Regions from separate parts of the Homo sapiens genome. Here regions 1 and 3 are each linked to region 2. Evidence: promoter capture Hi-C in 16 types of primary human blood cells and fetal thymus (Javierre and others, 2016). All regions are on one chromosome and are shown on one strand. The core of a region is centred on a gene start or on the middle of the fragment in contact, and the rest is flanking DNA. Distances in the headings are between cores, read along the strand shown.

Region 1 (3,096 bases), core at 487-2,986, 190 kb before region 2:
TTCTACATTTTTCTTTTTTGTATTTTATAGAAATTATATTAGATTTTGTTTTCATTTTAGAATGCTATTTTTATGCTAAAAATGAAATAATCACATTACCATAAAAGTGAGAAATAGAATAAATAAAGATACTCATAATTCTAACACAGTTTATATTTTAGTGTTTCTTTTCAAAGTCGTTTTGTATTCTTTAAAAAAATGGTCATAGTTATTATCACAGTATGTATACAACTATAGGTACATTTTTTCACTTATCACAAAAATATAATTATTTCTCCCTGTTTTCAAAGCCATTGGTTTATATTATTTGACTACCTCATAGTTCTTTAAGTGAGAGCCTTATGATTTTTTTACAGAAACACTTACGTTTTATTCATGTTTTTGCTGTTTCTTGGCTTTTTTGTTAGTTTTACTATTTTCCCTGATCTTTAGCAGTAAATTCCAAAATATTCTGAGCAAGATAATTAGAGTACCATATTATTATTGCTGCCTCTCAAAGGCTAGGAGATATATTTTTAAAGTGTTAAAAGACTATAAGGAATTAAATTTTAAATATATGCAGCATGTATTTTACATCTCAGAATTGCTAAGCGATTAAATTTCAAATGTTCTCACCACAAAAAATGGTAAGTATTTGAGGTGATAAATATGTTAATTGGCTTTATTTAATTACTCCATGTTGTATTTATAAATCATGGCATCATTCTGTACTACATAAATACATACAATTTTAAATTGTCAATTTTATTTATATATATGTGTATGTACACACACACACACACACACACACACACACGCACAACAGATGCTCCCAGAGAAGAAAAAGAATAAAATAATTGAAAATGTCTACTGAGAAAACAAACTGAAACAAGTGATCCTATGTCTATATTTAAGGTAACATAACCATACAAAGAATATAATTACTTTCAGTGAATTTTGGCAGAGTAATATAATTGTGCATCCTTAGTAGGATATATTTGATGAATAAAAAGAACTTCAAAAAAGTCTCAAGCTTCATTTGCTTATTTTATTGACAGGTCATAATATTGAAACTATTTCTGGATATATTAATATAAAGCAAATAAATAAATATGCTAATGCTATCTGAAAGCAACCTTTTTAGGAAACGTATGCTTCAGTCTTTATGGGTGAAATGTCATGATGCCTGAAACATTTTCAAATGACTCAGCAAAAAATATAGAGATAGACAATACATAATGCATATGTGGCAAAACATTGAAATTAAGGTAGTTTTCACAGGCTGGTTTTGTTTTGTTTTATTTTTTGGTTGCTTTGCCTGTACAAACAATGCTAAATCAATGCTATTTTTCCTGTACAAAAATAAATATCTTAGTGTATTCATTCTTATATGTTGGTGGTTTTGTTTCTGTGGGCCAAATTCCCAAAAATGGAGTTGCTGGGTTACAAGCCTATGTTTGCCTTCTTATAAATTTTGTCAAATTATTGCCCAATGTTTCAAAGTGTCAATTTCTCAGAATGTTATTGCTTCTTTAAAGGAAATTTCTTTTAAATTTAATGAATTAAATTAAATTAATCAATATAATAAATGTCCCTTGAAAAGGTATTGTGCTATTGCATTTCTCTAATTGTTAATGAGCTGCTTTCATCTATATTTCAAATATATATAGTTGTATTGTATATATATTCTTTGTATTTTATTTCTTTTCCTATGAATTGCTTTATTTATGCTCATTTTTCAGAGAAATGGATTATTTTCATCTAGATAAAGATATCTATATTTTTCTTTCTTATGTTTTTCTGTCTTGCTTAAAAAGGTCTCTGTACCCCATGATTATACAGTTATTCACAATCACAATTATACTTTTGGCACATTCTCCTAGACAGAAGCAAATAACAAGCAAATAACAATCCTAAGATTGTTATTGGCTTCATATTTTATATTACAAAGTGGTATATATACTATACGTAGTATATATAATATACATAATATAAATATTAATATATGTAATACATTATATTAATTTATTATGTTTATATTATAAAATATTTATATAACATATAAAATATTTTTATATATAAATATAATATATTAATATTTATATTATAAAATACATTGGCCTTATATTTTATATTAAGATCTTTCATACACTTCATTGGGCAAAATGACCTGAGTTGGACTCTGGAATTCCAAATTTTGAAAACCTTGCAAATATCTGTCTGCACATTATCCAGCTGCATATTTTTTTTTAAGTTTTCTCAATTCTTCTTTGTTATTCCATTGTGGCTTATTGTTCTCTGGTTTCAATTTGTTTCCTTAGGAAATTGGTTTGATTGTCTCTGATTCATAACTCAGTAATCTGTCTTATATTTATGCCACATTTATGTTATACTGGGTTTTGTTTGTTTGTTTTCTGATTGTAAGCTAACCTTCAAGAGTAACTTTGCTTGCTCCTTGGCCTTCACTTATTTTTTTTATCTAAAAGCTTTCCTTAACTATATCAAATCTCTGCCTTTTTTAAAGACAGAAGAAAAGAATGTCAGAGTCAGAAAAGCATCCCAAGTACAAAAATCTTTGACAACACAGGAAGAATTGAATACATTTGAACTTGACCGTATTGCCTTTTCCTGCTTAACTACCCAGAGTTCACAAAAATGACTAGTGGGCAATGTCTTTTGAAAATCAAGTTAACTGAGAAATTTAGAATTTGAGCCTGACTAGTCAAATTAAAGAACTGGGCCTATAATAAAACAAACTCTGACAACACTCTTCTTTATTAATATCTGAGTATAATAATAACAACTCATCTTAAATTTAGAGGTTAAATTCAATCATGTTCTTTCGTCTTTCTTGTTCATTTTCCAAAAAGAGGTCTTATGAACTTAAGATTAAACAAACTCAAGTTTGACAATGTTATGCTAGAAAGGCTCCAAGGCATAGCCTACAAAATCACATTTGTCTTGAAAATCTATCTGTCCTGTGGTGATTTTTTTTCCAAGAATATGCTTTGAGGCCACAGCAATGAAAGGATGGGGCCAGCTGTGTTAGCTTATGAGTATTTTATGGGTCCAGGCCACATAATGAGACTACTTTCTGTTCCCCTCACTCAAAGTTAT
Region 2 (3,443 bases), core at 1-2,500:
AGGCGGAGTGGGGAGGAGGGAGCCCTCCGGAGTTCGGGAGCAGCACGTTGTGAGGGTCCACACAAGGGTGATGCCAGACCGAACACCATTAGGGCCTGGGTGTGAGTGTGACTCGGAGGCACCTGGGGGCCGTTGTAGGGCCGGGAAAAGCCAGGAACTGGCTGGAGCAGCACCCCAGCATCCCAGGGACCAAAGTCTGGGGGATTTGCATGTCTGAGGTTGCACTTGTGGGAAGACTTTTTGGAACCACTTAATCTCTGTGGCTCTGTGTAAGACCCGCGAAATAAAAAGAGGCAGTAGTACTCTTTGGAAGATTGTTTTAGGGATTAAATGAATAAAAAGCGTTTAGAACACTGCAGGACGCATTGTAGGCGCTGTATGGGTTTATGAAACCGAATATAAACAAATAAGCACGTCCCCCACCCAGCCAACGGCTTTGGGGGCCCCGTTCTGGCCAGTCCTGAGCCCCTCCACACGGCCCACGGCGGGCTGCGGGTCTCCCATCCGAGGAGGGTGCCGCTTTTCTGCCCCCGCTCCCTGGGTTCTGCGCCCAGCGCCATCCCGTGCGCCCCCGACCCTTGGGCATGGGGCACATGCCGCGGGGAGCCGCCAGGGAGACCCCAGAGGAGCGCGCCGCGGGCCGGCTTCCCCGGATGCCCCACCCACCTCCTCTTGGCGCTGCCCACCACCTGCCTCGGCTGCTCGGCCCCCGGCTCGCGAGGCTGCGCCCCCGACCCAGTCGGCGCCCACTCCTCGCCCTGCGGGCTCGCGGCAACTGGGCGGCCGGCCCGGCCCCTGCCCACCCCCAGCCCAGCCCGGCGCGCCGCACTGGGCATGCTCCGTAGCCTGGGCAGGTTGGGGCTGCGAGGCGACAGCTCGGGCTCTGGAGCCGGGAGGCGAGAACGAGGAGGGAGGCTCGGGGGCAGGGGAGGAGGAAGCGGCTGGCCGCTGAGGGGCGGCGGGGCCCGGAGCGGGGGACGCGCAGGGCCCGGCGGTGGGCGGGCGGGTCGGCGCTGCCCCGTGGGCTCGCTGGGGAGCCACGGCGGAGACCCCCGCCCTCAACTGAGGTAAGGACCGCGCGGCGCGGAGACGGGGAGGCGGGGAGGCCAGGGAGGGGGTGCGGAGGCAGGCGGGAGGGCGGGACTGGGGTGCGCCGGGAGGGGGCTTGGCGGCGGCTCTTTATGGCGAGGAGGGGGTGGTGGCGCCGCGCCGGGAGCAGTAAGTGAGCTGCACCGCCAACAAGATCTCTCACACACAGACACACACACGCACACGCACACACGGGCGCGCACACACACGCGCGTACACACTGGGTCTCCAGGCAGCGGCCGTCGCCGCATCCCCGGCAGCAGCTCCAGGCAAAGTGACAGGTAGGAAAAGGCATTTCGGGTCCCGCCCGAGGATGCTCCCGCCCGCCTTGGCCCTCAGGGCTTGTTTGCTTTCCGCGGGTGCGTCCCGGACGCGCGCGCGCGCGCACCCGGATGCCCAGCGGGGACCCCGTGCAGGTGCCGGGTGCCAGGCGCCCTGTGCGCGCGGGAGGCAGGGGACCCAGACGCCATCCCCCTTCCCCTGCAGTCATCGCCTGCTGGGTTTCCTCAGACTCTCTCCAGACGTTCACCCTCTTCTGGGCTAGAAATAGCTCGGCTCGACGTGTATATGATTATTTTGGTTGGAAATAGTTGGCACCGTGCAACGCATGTAAATGTGTATGCGTGTGGATCTTCTTGCCTCTTCTGGGGAAATCATAGAAATGATTGACCGTTTCCACTTAAAACAACACTGACAGGCTTAGCACTCATTGGGGGCAGGGTTCGGGCCTCCTAAAAGCCTGTTAGTGAAGGAAATCCTTATTTTCAGAATTTTAAAGTTGCTTTTGCTTTAACCAATTAGACTCTGTATAGTACAATACTTCTGAGTGTAGACTTCGTATATGGTACTGAATCGAAGTATGGAAATATGGAATTCTCTAATTTCCAAGTGTGTTTAAGTGCAACTTTATCTAGAATCATAAAACTAGCATTTTCCTAGAGAGAAATACAACTGCCCACTATAGTTTCCATAAATATGGATATATCTGAAAGATGACCCTACTCTTCCAACTTTTTTTCCTCTTAACTTCTGTAGTGATTCTAGCTATTGTTCTAAAACATGTATTTGAAATTTAATTTTGGCCAGAATATTCAGGAAAGGTGTTTTTTTTTCCATATACGTAATACTTAGTGGTCTATATATTTAAGTTATAGGTATGTGGAGATAGCTGTTTAATAATTCTTTTTGTCTGGAAATAACGTTATTCAAACATAGGCAGCTATGTATCATTTTAAAATGATATTGAATTTCCCCTTAAAGAGAAATCAGATTTATAATGTAAACATGACCAGGAAAAGCAACTGGTGACTTTACCTGGGGAGGCTCCAAGGAGGTTAAGAAAGTATCTGAACAACTGTGTTTTTCAGAATAGAAAAATTGTGTGTGTGTTGCGGGGGAAGGTAAAATTTTAACTTTATTCTTTTATTGTTTTCAAGACGGCTGTTTTCAGAAATGTGTGGTTGAACTGAGACCCTCATATTTTATACTCTTCAAATTTGAGTGGCCTCAGTTATAGAATCATACAGAAGATCAAAAGTCTAGCTCAGCAGGGGCATGTGGTGTAATCCCTCACTATCTGTGTTATGTAATCCAGAATGCTGTTTTTCATAGGACAGTCTTGCATGATCCTTAGCTGGTGTATTGATCTATTATATCATCTTCCTTTTGAACTGTAGTAGTTTAATAAATGATTGCCATCTTTGGAGAGCACCTGTTTTCATAAAAAATCACTTTTTGAAATGGCAAAACATTTTTATTGGCACTTTTATGAACGTAAGACTTGCTGCCAGACGAGTAACCTTTTGAATGTGACGTATTATAACATATCTAAAGGTACCATGTATTAGCTTATGGACTACACTTCCTTCCAACTATATTATTACTCAACAGTTGGAACTTAGTTTTGATGGTATTACTACCCAGCTCTGAATTAATCGCTGTTGAAAATGCTGTTCTACAAGTAACTGTCAAAACAGAATTTCTAACTCCATTTGATCACTGGGTGCACATTTAAATCTGTCGGAATAACTCTACCTTTATTTTGCAAATGCATACCCACGCAGAAAGCTTTGTTCTAAAATACTCTATTGGAAGTTTTATATTTATATGCCTGAAAATGTGAGTGATGTTAAACTGCTTACATGTCCTGGAATCGTGAGGCGGTGTGTTTTTGCCTTATGAGATAAAGAAATATGGTAGTTGAAAAAGTGTTACAGGTTACCAAAAACCTTTTGCAGGAAAAGATTTTAAAAATTTGTATCACCTCTGAAATATTTCAACCACAGCAGAGTCCATTCAGTGCCCGTAGCACAGCTAGTTTGCCTTTCCCAAGATTACACACAACTGTCTTTAGA
Region 3 (3,444 bases), core at 408-2,907, 220 kb before region 2:
CCCAGCACTTTGGGAGGCCGAGGCAGGCAGATCACCTGAGGTCAGGAGTTCGAGACTAGCCTGGCCAACATGGCAAAACCCCATCTCTACTAAAAACACAAAAATTAGTAGGGCATGATGGTGTGCGCCTGTAGTCCCAGCTATGTGGGAGGCTGAGGCTGGAGAATCGCTTGAATCTAGGAGGTGGAGGTTGCGTTGAGCCGAGATCATGCCACTGCACTCCAGCCTGGGTGACAGAACAAGACTCCATCTCAATAAAATAAAATTAAATTAAAAATTAAAAGAAAATATAAAAAAAAGAACCAAGCAGGGCTGAGCGCGATGGCTCATGCCTGTAATCCCAGCACTTTGGGAGGCCAAGGTGGGCGGATCACGAGGTCAAGAGATCGAGACCATCCTGGCCAACATGGTGAAACCTCATATCTACTAAAAATACAAAAATTAGCTGGGCATGCTGGTGCAGGCCTGTAGTCCCAGCTACTTGGGAGGCTGAGGCAGGAGAATTGCTTGAACCCAGGAGGCGGAGGTTGCAGTGAGCCGAGATCACGCCACTGCACTCCAGCCTGGCGACAGAGCAAGACTCCGTCTAAAAATAAAAAAAAGAACGAAGCAGCCCGGCCCTAGAACTCATGTGCTCTAAACCACTACTCTAAACCAGCTCTTTAAAACACGTAAGTGTAAATGTGCACAGATTTCAATTTAGAGCTGTGTGACTCCCAGCAGATTTCTTTTTTCTTGAGCAAAGGAGATGCCACTGTGAATATTAATGTCTGTCATAGCCAGAGCAGACACTCTTCAGCTTTTGGGCAAACTAAAATGCTCAAAAATACCCACAGGCACAACATTTTCTAATCGTGCTTCCAGAGCCAGGCAGTGTGTTCATGCATGTAAGACGCTGTATAAATGTAGGTAGTAGCACCAATAGTGCTCATGAATTATGGATGAAGAGGAACATCCAGAGTCAAACATTCCTGAGAAAGCAGACCAGGCTCCCTTTACTGGGTTAGGAAAAGATAAAAGGCTAAACTTCCCAAGGCAGTTGACTGGTGATTTTTCATTCTAACATCCGAAAAAATAGGAATAAAGTTGCTATGGTTTGAATATATGTGTCCCTTCAAAATTCATGCTGAAATTTAATCCCTAGTAAAACAGTATTAAGTGAGGACTTTACGAGGTTTAGGTCATGAGGGCCTTACCTCCATGAATGGGGATAGTGCCCTTATAAAAGGGCTTGAGGGAGCCTGCTTTGCTCTTTTTGCCCTTCTGCCATGTGAGGACACAGCAAAAAGGTATCATCTTGGATGCAGGAGATGAGCCCTCACCAGACGCCAAATCTTCTGGTGCCATGGTCTTGGAATTCCCAGCCTCCAGAACTGTGAGAAATAAATTTCTATTAATTATAAATTACCTGGTCTAAGATATTATGTTATAGCAGCAGGAATGAACCGAGACAGCAGCCTATTTCAGAAGCCTGTCTCTGATGCTCCTATTCCAACCAAAATCTTTAAGCCAGAGATCGCAACCAGTAACCTGGCTGAATAATCCACAAACATGGTTTATTGTACTCACACATTGTTATAATGTTTTTTTCTTAGTGTTCTTTCATCTTCTTGTTGAACAGGATGCCAACTTTAAAAATAAGGAGATATCCTTTAAAAATGTTTCCTTGCTTTAATTGAAATATTCAAAGACCTGGCTCACTGGGGCCATGTTCCAATGGACTTGGCAGCAATTAGCTGGATCTGAGGAGTGGAATCCCCGATTAGATGACCTTGTGTGCTCCCTTTAGCCACAGTCACCATCACTGTTTGTTACCTTATACTCACATACCACCACTGACTACCACCAGTGCTTTTCACTCTTTTTCTTTACCTCTCTTCCTCCTAAAGTCATTTGCATTTAATAACTGCTAATTTCCTGTTATTCAAGGTCCCTAGCAATTTATGATATATGTGTTTGCTTATATAAACTTGCTTCAACAGGCCACAGTAGCCTAGGAGGTAGTCATTGCTTGAAGATTTATACTGGGCTGCAAAATAACCCTGAGTGTCTACTCAACTTTCAGTTCGAAGTGCCTTATCCTGTATGGTAGTGGGTTACTTTTTGCATGCCAACTCCATCATATGGTAGCAGATGCCTGGGACTTTTTGTTGATAAGGATTCCAAGGCTATCTAGATGGCCTGGAAGTACCACTAAGATTGATTAGTGATGTCTGCCATAGTCACCCCAGCTGCTGCTATCCATCAGAAGTCATCAGCCCTGTGCTTCCATCTCCATTTCTTTTTTTGGTTTTTTTTTTTTTCATTTTTTTCATTTTTTTTCATTCTGAGTGTCATCATTTAGGAGACTCACACAAAAGTAAGAGAATCTTTCTAGGGAAATGTTCTCTTTTCTTTGCTTGAACTGAAGTTGCAATTTAGAGGCAGTTACCCTTAACCCTGGCATCTTTTTCCCCCAGTACAAGTGTTCATAGAAGCACCACATGTAACAGGCAAAAACTGGAAACAACCTAAATGTCCATCAACAGTGGCATGGGTAAATGAAGTGTGGTGTATTCACATACTTTATAGCAATTTTTAAAAACCCGACTACAGCTATCTACAACAACAAAAAAAGAAGCCAGATGCAAAGAACTATAGACTGTATGACTGTTTATATAAAGTTGCAAAATAGGCTGCTGTCTCAGTTCATTCCTGCTGCCAGGTTTTATCTCTGCCTCCTAATTATTCTGTCATTTCAGCCACATCTGGGGTTACTAAGTGTCATTTCTAAATTGTACCTACTGACATTAGCGAATATCTTTTTGCTGGTCTCCCAAAAGAAAGATCCATCATTTTTCTAACTCCTAATTGAAGAACCTAAGAAAATTGCTGTGTTACAAAGTGTTCCTTTTCATCAACCACAAAACAATCCTCCAGGACAGAGTTGAGCAAAACCAATTCTGTCCAATCCAGTCTGAGTCTAATGACAGAAACTACTCTGAGTTACCTTATTCCTGATATTCCAGGACTGACATCAGGGCCTCTGTCCCAAGAAGTGGAGGAAGGCAGAACTCCCACTAGCCATATCCCAGCCTCCTTAAGATGGGCCTGTGGTCCTGGGAAATCTGCTCTTCTAACCTTTCCTTTGTCCACAGAAGCCACATCAGTAGAGGGTCAGTTACAGACAAGGGGCACACAGTGAATAAGGAGGCACTCACTTCTTGGATTAATTGGCTTAGTGTGAGAAGGCTCACTTTTACATCCTAAGATTGGAAAGTGCCAGAGGCCCCCACAAATCTCCAAAAGCATAGTTTGCTCTCCAATTTTCTCAACTCTTTCCCGGTTTGTAATGTTTATTGTTTTCTTATAATATTTACCAACCATCTTACCTCACCAATGCTAGATCCTACAGGTAACAGAAGCACAGTATACCAGAATGATCACATCCAATAGCCCCTGGCT

Evidence for each region. Contacts are between HindIII fragments. The CHiCAGO score rates a contact against its expected background, and 5 or more counts as called.
Region 1: a fragment that was not itself captured here is called in contact with the fragment with the promoter of PLCB4 in region 2 in 1 of 17 cell types (megakaryocytes); the score reaches 6.2 in megakaryocytes.
Region 3: a contact is called between a fragment that was not itself captured here and the fragment with the promoter of PLCB4 in region 2, in 1 of 17 cell types (megakaryocytes). The highest score is 9.2, in megakaryocytes.

What each region holds. Positions count from the first base shown.
Region 1 is chr20:8,873,460-8,876,555 of GRCh38, forward strand. The region is part of intron 31 of PLCB1 (phospholipase C beta 1); the gene reads left to right. Among named protein-coding and RNA genes, the nearest start is that of RNU105B, 44 kb to the left of the region's middle. The HindIII fragment of the contact is 1,453 bases long and covers 1,011-2,463 here.
Region 2 is chr20:9,067,837-9,071,279 of GRCh38, forward strand. It overlaps PLCB4 (phospholipase C beta 4), which reads left to right and starts at 1,251. Exons shown (of 40, transcript NM_001377142.1): 1 at 1,251-1,370. The HindIII fragment of the contact is 10,687 bases long and covers 1-3,154 here.
Region 3 is chr20:8,849,423-8,852,866 of GRCh38, forward strand. The region is part of intron 31 of PLCB1 (phospholipase C beta 1); the gene reads left to right. Among named protein-coding and RNA genes, the nearest start is that of RNU105B, 20 kb to the left of the region's middle. The HindIII fragment of the contact is 5,550 bases long and covers 1-3,444 here.